Regions from separate parts of the Homo sapiens genome. Here regions 1 and 3 are each linked to region 2. The links are contacts of gene promoters, found by promoter capture Hi-C in blood cells and fetal thymus (Javierre and others, 2016). All regions are on one chromosome and are shown on one strand. Each heading gives the region's core, a stretch centred on a gene start or on the middle of the fragment in contact. The rest is flanking DNA. Distances are from core to core; before and after follow the strand shown. Region 1 has its middle 34 kb from the start of SEC62. Region 2 holds the start of SAMD7 (sterile alpha motif domain containing 7). Region 3 overlaps SEC62 (SEC62 preprotein translocation factor).

Region 1 (3,102 bases), core at 351-2,850, 89 kb after region 2:
TGAGATCACATAAGTGAATACCCAGCCCAGATTAGGAAGGTCAGGAAAGGCATCCCATAGAAGTATCATGAGCTAGATCTTGAAGAATGAGTGGGTATTAGCCAAGTAAAGACTAGGGGAATTTTGGGCCACTGCAGCAAGATGTGCAAAAATAAGACAGCAGAGTGAGCATGGCATCCCCTGAAACTGAAACTAGTTAAGGTGCAGCTGGAAAAGAGAAACGTTTAGAGAGGGATACAGGTGGCAAGTCATTGTTTGACCAGAATCCCTTCCTTTAGAAAATATTCCTTTCCCTTCTGTGGTGCTCCTCATTCCATTCCACGGTGACTGGCCTCAAGGATGAGCACTCAGTTCACACCAGGCCAATTGAAGTCTTCTCATTTACTCAGGGGTCTTGAATTCCAAGGACCATGTGGACCTGAAGAAACCAATGGCTATGCTGCCTTCACATGAATGGAGCCTGTCTAGAAATAGAACCAACATGAAAAAAACAGAACCAAGGGTGGATCAGGAAGACAAGGCCTTAATGCCATCTTTGAACTCCCAGATCTAGCCTGGCCTAAAGCCATCCCTGGGCTTTTCAGTTGCATGAGCCAACAGATTCATCATTTTTTCTCAGTTATTTTGAATGAGATTTCTGTCACTGGGAACTGAAAGATGACTGAGTTGCACACAGTAAGTATGAACAGTGACACTAAAATACCTTTGGAGCAGATTGACTCAAAGCAGGAGAGTGACACATTCAGATTTGCATCTTAGACTACACTAATCACATAGAAAATGGCATGGCAAGGAGCAAGGCTTAGATATTTTCTGGATACTTCCAGTATTTCTCAGATTTACACATTCTAACCACAACTCCCCTCTTGTTGTTAAAAACAATTTATTTTCTTATTACGGAAAAATCAGAAACTTATAAGCAAAAATAACCAGAAAACTCACAAACCTACTGTCTTAGTCCATTTTGTGTAGCTATAACAGAATACCACAGACTGGGTAATTTATAAAGAAAATAAACTGACAGGGCATGGTGGCTCATGCCTGTAATCCCACCACTTTGGGAGGCCAAGGCGGGTGGATCACCTGAGGTCAGGAGTTCGAGACCAGCCTGGCTAACATGGCAAAACCCCGACTCTACTGAAAATATAAAAATTAGCTGGGTGTGGTGGTGTGCACCTGTAGTCCCAGTTACTTGGGAGGCTGTGACAGGCGAATCGCTTGAACCCAGGAGGCAGAGGTTGCAGTGAGCTGAGATCACACCACTGCACTCCAGCCTGGGCAAGAGAGTGAGATTCTGTCTCAAGAAAAAAAAAAAGAAGCTTATTTGACTCATGAGTTTGGAGGCTGAGAAGTCCAAGAGCATGGCACTGGGATCTAGTGAGGGCTTTCATGCTGCATCCCATGGTGGAAGGCAGAAGGGCAAGACAAGATGAAAGCCAGTGAGCAAGAGGGGGCTGAACTGGCTTTTATAACAAGCCCACTCTCATGATAATAACAATGCATCTGTGAAGGCAGAGCCCTTATGGCCTAATCACCTCTTAAAGGTTCCACCTCTTAATATCATCACAATGGCAATTAAATTTCAGCATGAGTTTTGAGGGGGACATTGAAACCATAGCACCTACCTTCAGAGACAACTACTGTTAAAACTCATATATATCCTTCTATAGCTCTTATATGTGTAACATGTATGTCTCTGTTCACTGAGGTGAGGAGATAGTAAATAAATGGGATCATACCATGTATACTTTATATTAAGAGTATTCAGAAATTAACGATCTGGAAAAAGAACATGTTGTGTGGAACCAAAGACACCATTTTTTCAGAAGAACAAATTATTGACCAGCTTATGATTTTAAATTGTATTTCTGCTCACCAACTTCAAGCTTCAGATTGTGAAGTTATCCTTAGACTAAGTATATAGTAAATGCATGTTACAAAGTATTTCACATTACAGTGTTTTTAATGATCAACATTCGAGGGGATTAGAAGGAAGAATTTATTATTAACTTGCCATATCCTCAAATACATACACCTTTAACAATTATGGCACTTTGCACTGCAAAGAAAAAAATAAAGGGCAGTAACAAGTAAATTAGTACACAACAAGGCTCTTGAAAACAAGAGCAGTAACTGCAGAAACTGGTCTGTACTTACAGAGTCTGGACAATATCTGACAGACTGCACAGCTATAAAGAGTGGTTGGATACTATATAAAGCAAAGCAAGTTGCATCTCTATCCCATCTTTCTAGTTGCATATACTCCACAGGGTTCAATTACAAAATTGAAACCCTATTCTTAATAACTTTTTTTCTTATTGTCCTTTAATAAAAGAACCATCAGAATTCTCCACTTTTCAATCGCATATGCTGTCTTCTATCTCACCTTCCATCCCACCCCTAATTTAGTCTCCTTCCAAAGGACTGATTGCAAATTTCACTACTTAACAAACAACATATGCAGCCGGGCGTGGTGGCTCATACCTGTAATCCCAGCACTTTGGGAGGCCGAGGCAGGTGGATCATGAGGTCAGGAGATCAAGACCATCCTGGCCAACATGGTGAAACCCTGTCTCTACTAAAAATACAAAAATTAGCCGGGTGTAGAGGTGCACACCTGTAGTCCCAGCTAGTCGGGAGGCTGAGGCAGGAGAATTGCTTGAACCTAGGAGGCAGAGGCTGCAGTGAGCCGAGATCACACTACTACACTCGTCTGGGCGACAGAGCGAGACTCCGTCAAAAAAAGAAAACATATGCAAGATTCAGATGTCTCGTGCTTCCCTCTGCCTCCACCCAAAGTTTCTTATTAACAGTATTGGTGGGAGCATGACATGTTTGTTTGAACAGTTCCATCAATGCCAAGCCACGATTATACACGGATAATGTTCCTATAGAAGGGAACCAACTCCTGGAAAATGAGCTCGAATGTTCAGCCCCATTGCCACCTCACATTCTTTATTCCCCACCACACAGATTGAGAGGGATGCGGTGACCAGACAGAGGAATGCCATTGAGACTCCCAGCACAGACCGTAGACTGCTTTTCTCAGGAGGCAATGGCAGTTCTCTGCAATACTCAGAAGGCAAGTCACCTGAAGAATCT
Region 2 (3,383 bases), core at 859-3,358:
CTATGTTGGAATGAGTACCGCTGTTACACTGTTAGATTGATGTTTATGGGCTGGTGCAAACCTAATTACTCCTTATGATGTTGCTTCTATGAAAACAATACATTTATAAGTTTCTGTTGAACAATGTATAAGCAAGTCTTTCAGATACAAGCTCTTCTAATATGAGACTACCAGAGTGATTACAAACAAAGTATATGCATTAGGGCGGGGCGCAGTGGCTCACACCTGTAATCCCAGCACTTTGGGAGGCTGAGGTGGGCAGATCACAAGGTTAGGAGATCGAGACCATTCTGGCTAACACGGTGAAACCCCGTCTCTACTAAAAATACAAAAAAAAAAAAATTAGCTGGGCATGGTGGCGGGCGCCTGTAGTCCCAGCTACTCAGGAGGCTGAGGCAGGAGAATGGCGTGAACCCGGGAGGTGGAGCTTGCAGTGAGCTGAGATCACGCCACAGCACTCCAGCCTGGGTGACAGAGTGAGACTCTGTCTCAAAAAAACAAACAAACAACAACAACAAAAAAAAACAAAAACTGTATGCATAAATATTATAAATGCTAATAATTTATGAGACACTTCAAAATGCATATACAACACAAGAAAGACAGTTTAGTAAAAATTAGGGCAAAGGGAAAATAATGTTAGGAAAAATAAGATGAAGCCATAGATCATTTCTGGTTTTAAAATGCATGTCTAGGCTGGGCATGGTGGCTCACGCCTATAATCCCAGTACATTGGGAGGCCGAGGTGGGTGGATTGCTAGAGTCCAGGAGTTCAAGACCAGCCTAGGCAACATGGCGAAAGCCTGTCTCTACAAAAAAATACAGAAAAAAAATTAGCCAGGCATGCGGTCGTGCACCAGTGGTCCCAGCTACTTGGAGGCTACGGTGGGAGGATTGCTTGAGTCTGGGGACATAGAGGCTACAGTGAGCCATGATTGTGCCACTGCACTCTAGCCTGGGTGGCAGAGCAAGAACTTGTCTCAAAAATAAATAAATAAAAATATAATAAAATGCATGCCTAAAGGCAGGTCCTGAACTTCCTACTAACCAACACAAAGAATGCAACACACTAGTTACGTGATTCCTGAGGTTTTATTTTGGCCTTATTTTTCAGAACAACAACAACAACAATAACAACAACAAAACAATTGTCCCTAGTACTACAAGCTGAGAAAAATTCCTCCCATGGATCCTCAACAGAGGACTCTGTGCAATATAGTTACCTAACATAATGGCTAATGTTTAGTGAGAACTATTCAAGCATTTTGTCTACCTTGTTGCCTTCCCTTTCCCAAGAAGGGCTCTTCTGAGATGAGGAAACTAAGGCTCAGAGAAGTTCAGTAACTTGGCCAGGCCATACAGCTAATGAGTGGTGGTGCTGAGGCTTATTGAGTCTGTTGGTCATCTAAGTCCCTGCTGTTGACCACTGCTTTATGAACAATAACCCTGGAATAAATACAGTCAGTTCCACATGCTATTTCTTATAATGAGTTCAACAGCCAATGATAAAAATGTGTGTCAACAAAGGAGCAGGTTACCTTCAAACTGGAAGCCTAAAGCATTACTTGAAACACAACTTAAATTTCTTATATTCAATTCTTATTTTGTACTTCCTACTAGTAAATTACTAGGAATCAAAAAATATGGATGTTCTTTTTCAAGCTATAAATGTTTCTCTAGCAAATATAACAGGTCACATTTTCAAAATTCCGTGTTTTCCCTCTTATATAGATCACAGCTCTCACACAGATGATAAAGGGTTTTCTCACTGCCTGTGAGAATTAAAGTACAGTTGTCCATTATAGAAGCTTCTTTTTAAAATAGACTGCCATCTTTCATCAAATGTTTCAGCTCTGTGGAAAATAACTTAGGTTTTTTCCTACTCGCAAAAGAAATGTTTCCACTTGAAACCTGTTGGAAATATGGAATAGGCTATATAGTTCCATCAAAGAAAAGCTTATTACTTATTTGCATAGTATATTTCTTTTGTGTCAAGTTGAACAGTGGTATTAAGTGAATGCCCACAAAGCATCTTAAAGGCTAAGGAAGGATTACACTAAAGGCTAAGCTCTGAGACAGGTTTATGCACCTTGCAGGGCACTTTCCTTGGGCTTAACATCTTTTAGCCTATCTGTAGAGGATATCAGAGGGCAAAGTTTCTGTCATGAAATAGGACTAATCAACTTAGTTGAATTTGTATTTAAAGCAAGGTTAAACTGAATTAAGACCATTTTTGAAAGAATTGTCAGATGTACCTTTCAACCCGCAGCCAGAGAAGCTTCTGCAGTTGAAGGCCAGAAAGTCTTTGTATGGTTCTTCCATCTGCAATATCAAAGACAAGAAGTCTTCATAGAGGATGTAAGTATGTAACTCTACACATTGATTAGCCCAAAATTGAGGCCAGTTACTCTGAGTAAAATGTTTCACATATAAAATAAAAGGACATCTTTATCTTAAAGGAAATGCTTAGGTTTATGTGTAGACTTTACTGGCTATTACTAACAGTATGTGAGCTAATAAATTCCTACTTGACTGAAGTTACTAACGAGTAAAGATGATATACCACTCCTACCAAATAAACACTGCCTGGTCTTAGTTTTTGGAGTTTTTTAAGTGAAAGTAAAATGAAGTTTATTTAAGATAAAGTCAGTTCAAAGTTGTATGTAAATTTACTGTAGTTTTATTATCTTCAAACAGATGAAGTACCTACCTCTATGTATTACTGCTGTTTATTTACTATATATTATTATTTTAATGGCCCCCCATTACTATAGATATCTATATTCCAAAAATTGTCATGATGTATGAACCATGAAATGTCAGAGTAGAAAATTTCAGAAAAACATTGAGGAACAATCAATGATAATCATGAAATAAAATCTATATTGATATTCCTTAATTCATTCTTTAAGACTATCTAACTAAAACACCTACTATTCAGTTCCATTATATGAGTACTGCTAGAATTTCACTTTAGTCTCTACAGATTTATATATAATGGACTTTGCTTCACAATCTTTTGAAGAAAGTGAACATAATTTATACAAACTGTAGTTGCACATAAATTATATTGAGTCCAGTAGAAATTACATAATTTTGACTTCTTTAATGATGTCAAAGGTTTACCTTTTTCTTTACAATACTTGTAATTGTGCCTAGAACCTGACATTTCAAGAAGACATGGATAGGTCTAATGAAAATGAGCTTCCAGAGTAAAAAGAAATAAGAAGTGACAGCAGCCAGCACGTAACCCACTGTCTTCAATGCTTTCCAGGGTATGTGCTATGGTGAAATGCAGTTAGAAAAGTCCTAAAGCTTATGCCTTTAGGAAAAGTGAAATACATTTTAGCAGCACTGCCAAGTGCTTCGGTATGAACTGTCTT
Region 3 (3,407 bases), core at 584-3,083, 65 kb after region 2:
TTCATTTTCTTCAGTACGTGAGTAGGGAAAATAAATTCACAGGAGGAATTGTCAAAGAAGTTCAGAATGAAAGGGAATAAAGGGAAGATGGGGAATGAGAAACAATGAAGAAAATAATAGAAAATTTGGGAAAAGATATAGAAGAAAGAAAGCAGAGAAGGATTAAAACGGCCTTTCCAAAACGACTCTTTGTCAGTGCACTTCCATTAATCACCTCTTCAAATGAGATAGTAATAACTCTTTTTGCATTTTTCATTTTTGCCTCACCCTTACTGGAGAAGAGAAGATGAGAAAGACAGTCCCAGGAGTGTCTGGTATCTGCAGCCACAGGGGGAAAGGAAAGAGAATACAAATTGTCATTGTGTCAGTAGTTCTTATGGCTACCACATTGGGGGCAGCTGTCATTGATTAATTTGAGAACTCCTTCTGCGATCTGTTGTCCATTGTTCAGGATACATATCTTTGGCTGTTATTTTAACATTTATTTATGACACTTGTTTCTACTTACTTTGACATTTGGATACTCACTATTAGCAACATCTTATCTTTTTAATTACTGTTTTGTGGCTTATAAAAAGAGACTATAGGCCGGTGACGATGGCTCACGCCTGTAATCCCAGCACTTTGGGAGGCCTAGGCTGGCGGATCACTTGAGGTCAGGAGTTCAAGACCACCCTAGCCAACGTGGCGAAACCCTGTCTCTACTAAAAATACAAAAATTAGCTGGGCATGGTGGCAGGCACCTGTAATACCAGCTACTTGGGAGGCTGAGGCAGGAGAGTCACTTGAACTCAGGAGGCAGAGGTTGCAGTGAGCCGAGATCGCACCACTGCACTCTAGCCTAGGCAACAGAGTGAGACTCCATCTCAAAAAAAAAAAAAAAAAAGACCGTATAAGAATGAAAGTGAACTGGTACAAAGTAGTTACCATTGTGGAAAAAACAACTCAAATGCCTCATAGTTGAAGCCAAGAAGCAGACAGGCTTTGCCTCTATCAACTTATATTTGAAAAACGTAGTTTCTTTAAATCTCCATTTTTGTCTTTTGAATACTTTATTAGGTCGCTCCAGAGAAAGCTTGAAAGCAAGGCCTGTACTCCACTTGAAAAGATTCATAAAATAGATTTGTAAATTATTATTCAGCGCATGAATTTCTCAAGTATATGATTATACTAAATTAATATTCATATGTTGCAGGAAGTTGGTGAACCATCTAAAGAAGAGAAGGCTGTGGCCAAGTATCTTCGATTCAACTGTCCAACAAAGTCCACCAATATGATGGGTCACCGGGTTGATTATTTTATTGGTAGGATTATATCAGTAAAATCGTATTAGTGTACATATGTTATGAAGTTAACCTACATTTGGGATATGTAGAAGTTTTAAAAGTGCTTTCCAAATGTGATTGTTCTGGTGATGGACATATGGCAGTTGATTATTCTGTTCTTTTCTTTTATGATTGAAAATGTCTATAATAAAAAGATAACATGTTTTCTAATAACAATTGTTGGAAATTTTTTTAAATAGGATTTATTTTCAGTGTTTTAAAATACTACCTTTTGTTTAGATAGTATGCGTACTTGGAACTAAGAGCACTGGCTTTTTTTCCCCAAACAATGTCATTATAAGCTGATGTCATTTATAACACCAGAGCTTATAAGTAGGGGTTGAGTTTGCCTTTCTCATCAATTAAAAGTGAATTGCAGCTGGGTGTCGTGGCTCACACCTATAGTACCAACACTTTGGGAAGCCAAGGCAGGAGGGTTGCTTGAGGCCAGGAGTTCGAGACCAGCCTATGCAACACAATGAGACCCCATCTCTACAAAAAAATTAGATGAGTATGATGGCATGCGCCTCTGAAGTGAGAGGATGGCTTGAGCCCAGGAGTTAGAGGCTGCAGTTAACTATGATCCCACCACTGTACTCCAGCCTGGGTGACAGAGCAAGAACCTGTCTCTTAGAAGAAAAAAAAAACTAAATTGCCAGTGTAGAGGAAAAGTCCTTTATCGTCTCTTTCTTTACTGTTTTTAATGATTTGACATTCATTACAAGTTTTAAAAAGTAGATGTGCTAATCTCTTCAGATATAATATGTTTAGCTGTTTCTTGTGACAGCAGTGGATTGTTGACAGAGCTTCTTCCTCAGTGTATTAGAGTAAAACTTGATGAGAATTTTTATTACTTGCAGGGAGTGGTGAACATTTTGGTTTATCTACATATGCTTGTGATTAATAAGAGTGATAGTTACATACAGATATTTTAAATTTTTGAATATTTCCCCATTAATTTAACTTGCTTTAGTTGGTCTTTCTGAATGCCATTATTTCCCAACATTACTTTTAAAAGATACTTAATATAGTTCACAAGTTGAGGTTTTGGGGAACTACTAATCATGATCATGTTAGATTTAGTTTTCTGTTGAGTTTGGTTTTCTTTTTTGTTGCCAGAGTGTTGAAATTTTACTTTATAAAATATTATTTAGATAGACATAAATCCCCATGTATGCTAAATTTAAAATAATGAATTTCTTCTTTAGCTTCAAAAGCAGTGGACTGTCTTTTGGATTCAAAGTGGGCAAAGGCCAAGAAAGGAGAGGAAGCTTTATTTACAACCAGGGAGTCTGTGGTTGACTACTGCAACAGGTACTGTTTATTTCTTAGTGAAGAATAACATAATAATTTTAAATTTTCTTCATAGTCCTGAAGCTCCTTACATCATTAAATGTAGTGATACTACAACATAACTCAAATACTGTTTTCACATGTAACCTGATTTCTTTGGTACCTCTGGAAATGTGTTTGGTATTAGACTATTATACTTTTAACTGTATATAATTTTTATTTATGTTCTATTTTATATATTTGTGAGCCCTACTGAAGGGTCAGCAACAAAAGTCATATACCAGTGCCTACAGTAGAAAAGAAAGTTTTTTCTTTTGTAGAGCAAATTGGTTGAGGAGTCTTTTTTTCAAAACTTTTGCAGGAATTCCTATTAGCTGTGTTACCGCTACTTTTTTAGTGCCTGCACCCTGAGCCATAAGCCTCATACCCTTTCCTATTTGGTTCAGTGTTTGCTAATGTAGTATTTCTTCTAAAATCAAGGAAGCTGCAACATCTACCTTATCTTTTTCTGAGAATTTCAAGATGAAATACAGCTAATTCAGTAATATACATATATTTTTCATAATAGATACTTTTTCTGTTTTGAAAAAACTTTTGATGTTAAGTGGTTTACCTAAAAGACAAAATCACCTTCCTTTTGGAAGGAAGTATGCTGGTTTTTCTTTCCATTTCTTTTCTTTTTTTTCTTGGTTTACTTAATACTAAGCATTTTCTTAATATATGTTAACTAAATTTTGTTTTCATAACACTAAAGCTTATCTTTTGGGATTTTAGATTATTTTATGTGTA

The links. The method cuts DNA at HindIII sites, captures the fragments that hold promoters and counts their contacts. A CHiCAGO score of 5 or more calls a contact.
Region 1: a fragment that was not itself captured here is called in contact with the fragment with the promoter of SAMD7 in region 2 in 2 of 17 cell types (naive B cells and total B cells); the score reaches 5.6 in naive B cells.
Region 3: a fragment that was not itself captured here is called in contact with the fragment with the promoter of SAMD7 in region 2 in 2 of 17 cell types (total B cells and naive B cells); the score reaches 5.4 in total B cells.

What each region holds. Positions count from the first base shown.
Region 1 is chr3:169,998,902-170,002,003 of GRCh38, forward strand. No RefSeq gene overlaps it. Among named protein-coding and RNA genes, the nearest start is that of SEC62, 34 kb to the left of the region's middle. The HindIII fragment of the contact is 567 bases long and covers 1,318-1,884 here.
Region 2 is chr3:169,909,464-169,912,846 of GRCh38, forward strand. SAMD7 (sterile alpha motif domain containing 7) reads left to right here and starts at 2,109. Exons shown (of 9, transcript NM_001304366.2): 1 at 2,109-2,358. The HindIII fragment of the contact is 322 bases long and covers 1,955-2,276 here.
Region 3 is chr3:169,974,413-169,977,819 of GRCh38, forward strand. SEC62 (SEC62 preprotein translocation factor) reads left to right here. Exons shown (of 8, transcript NM_003262.4): 2 at 1,196-1,304; 3 at 2,534-2,639. Among named protein-coding and RNA genes, the nearest start is that of SEC62, 9.3 kb to the left of the region's middle. The HindIII fragment of the contact is 1,521 bases long and covers 1,074-2,594 here.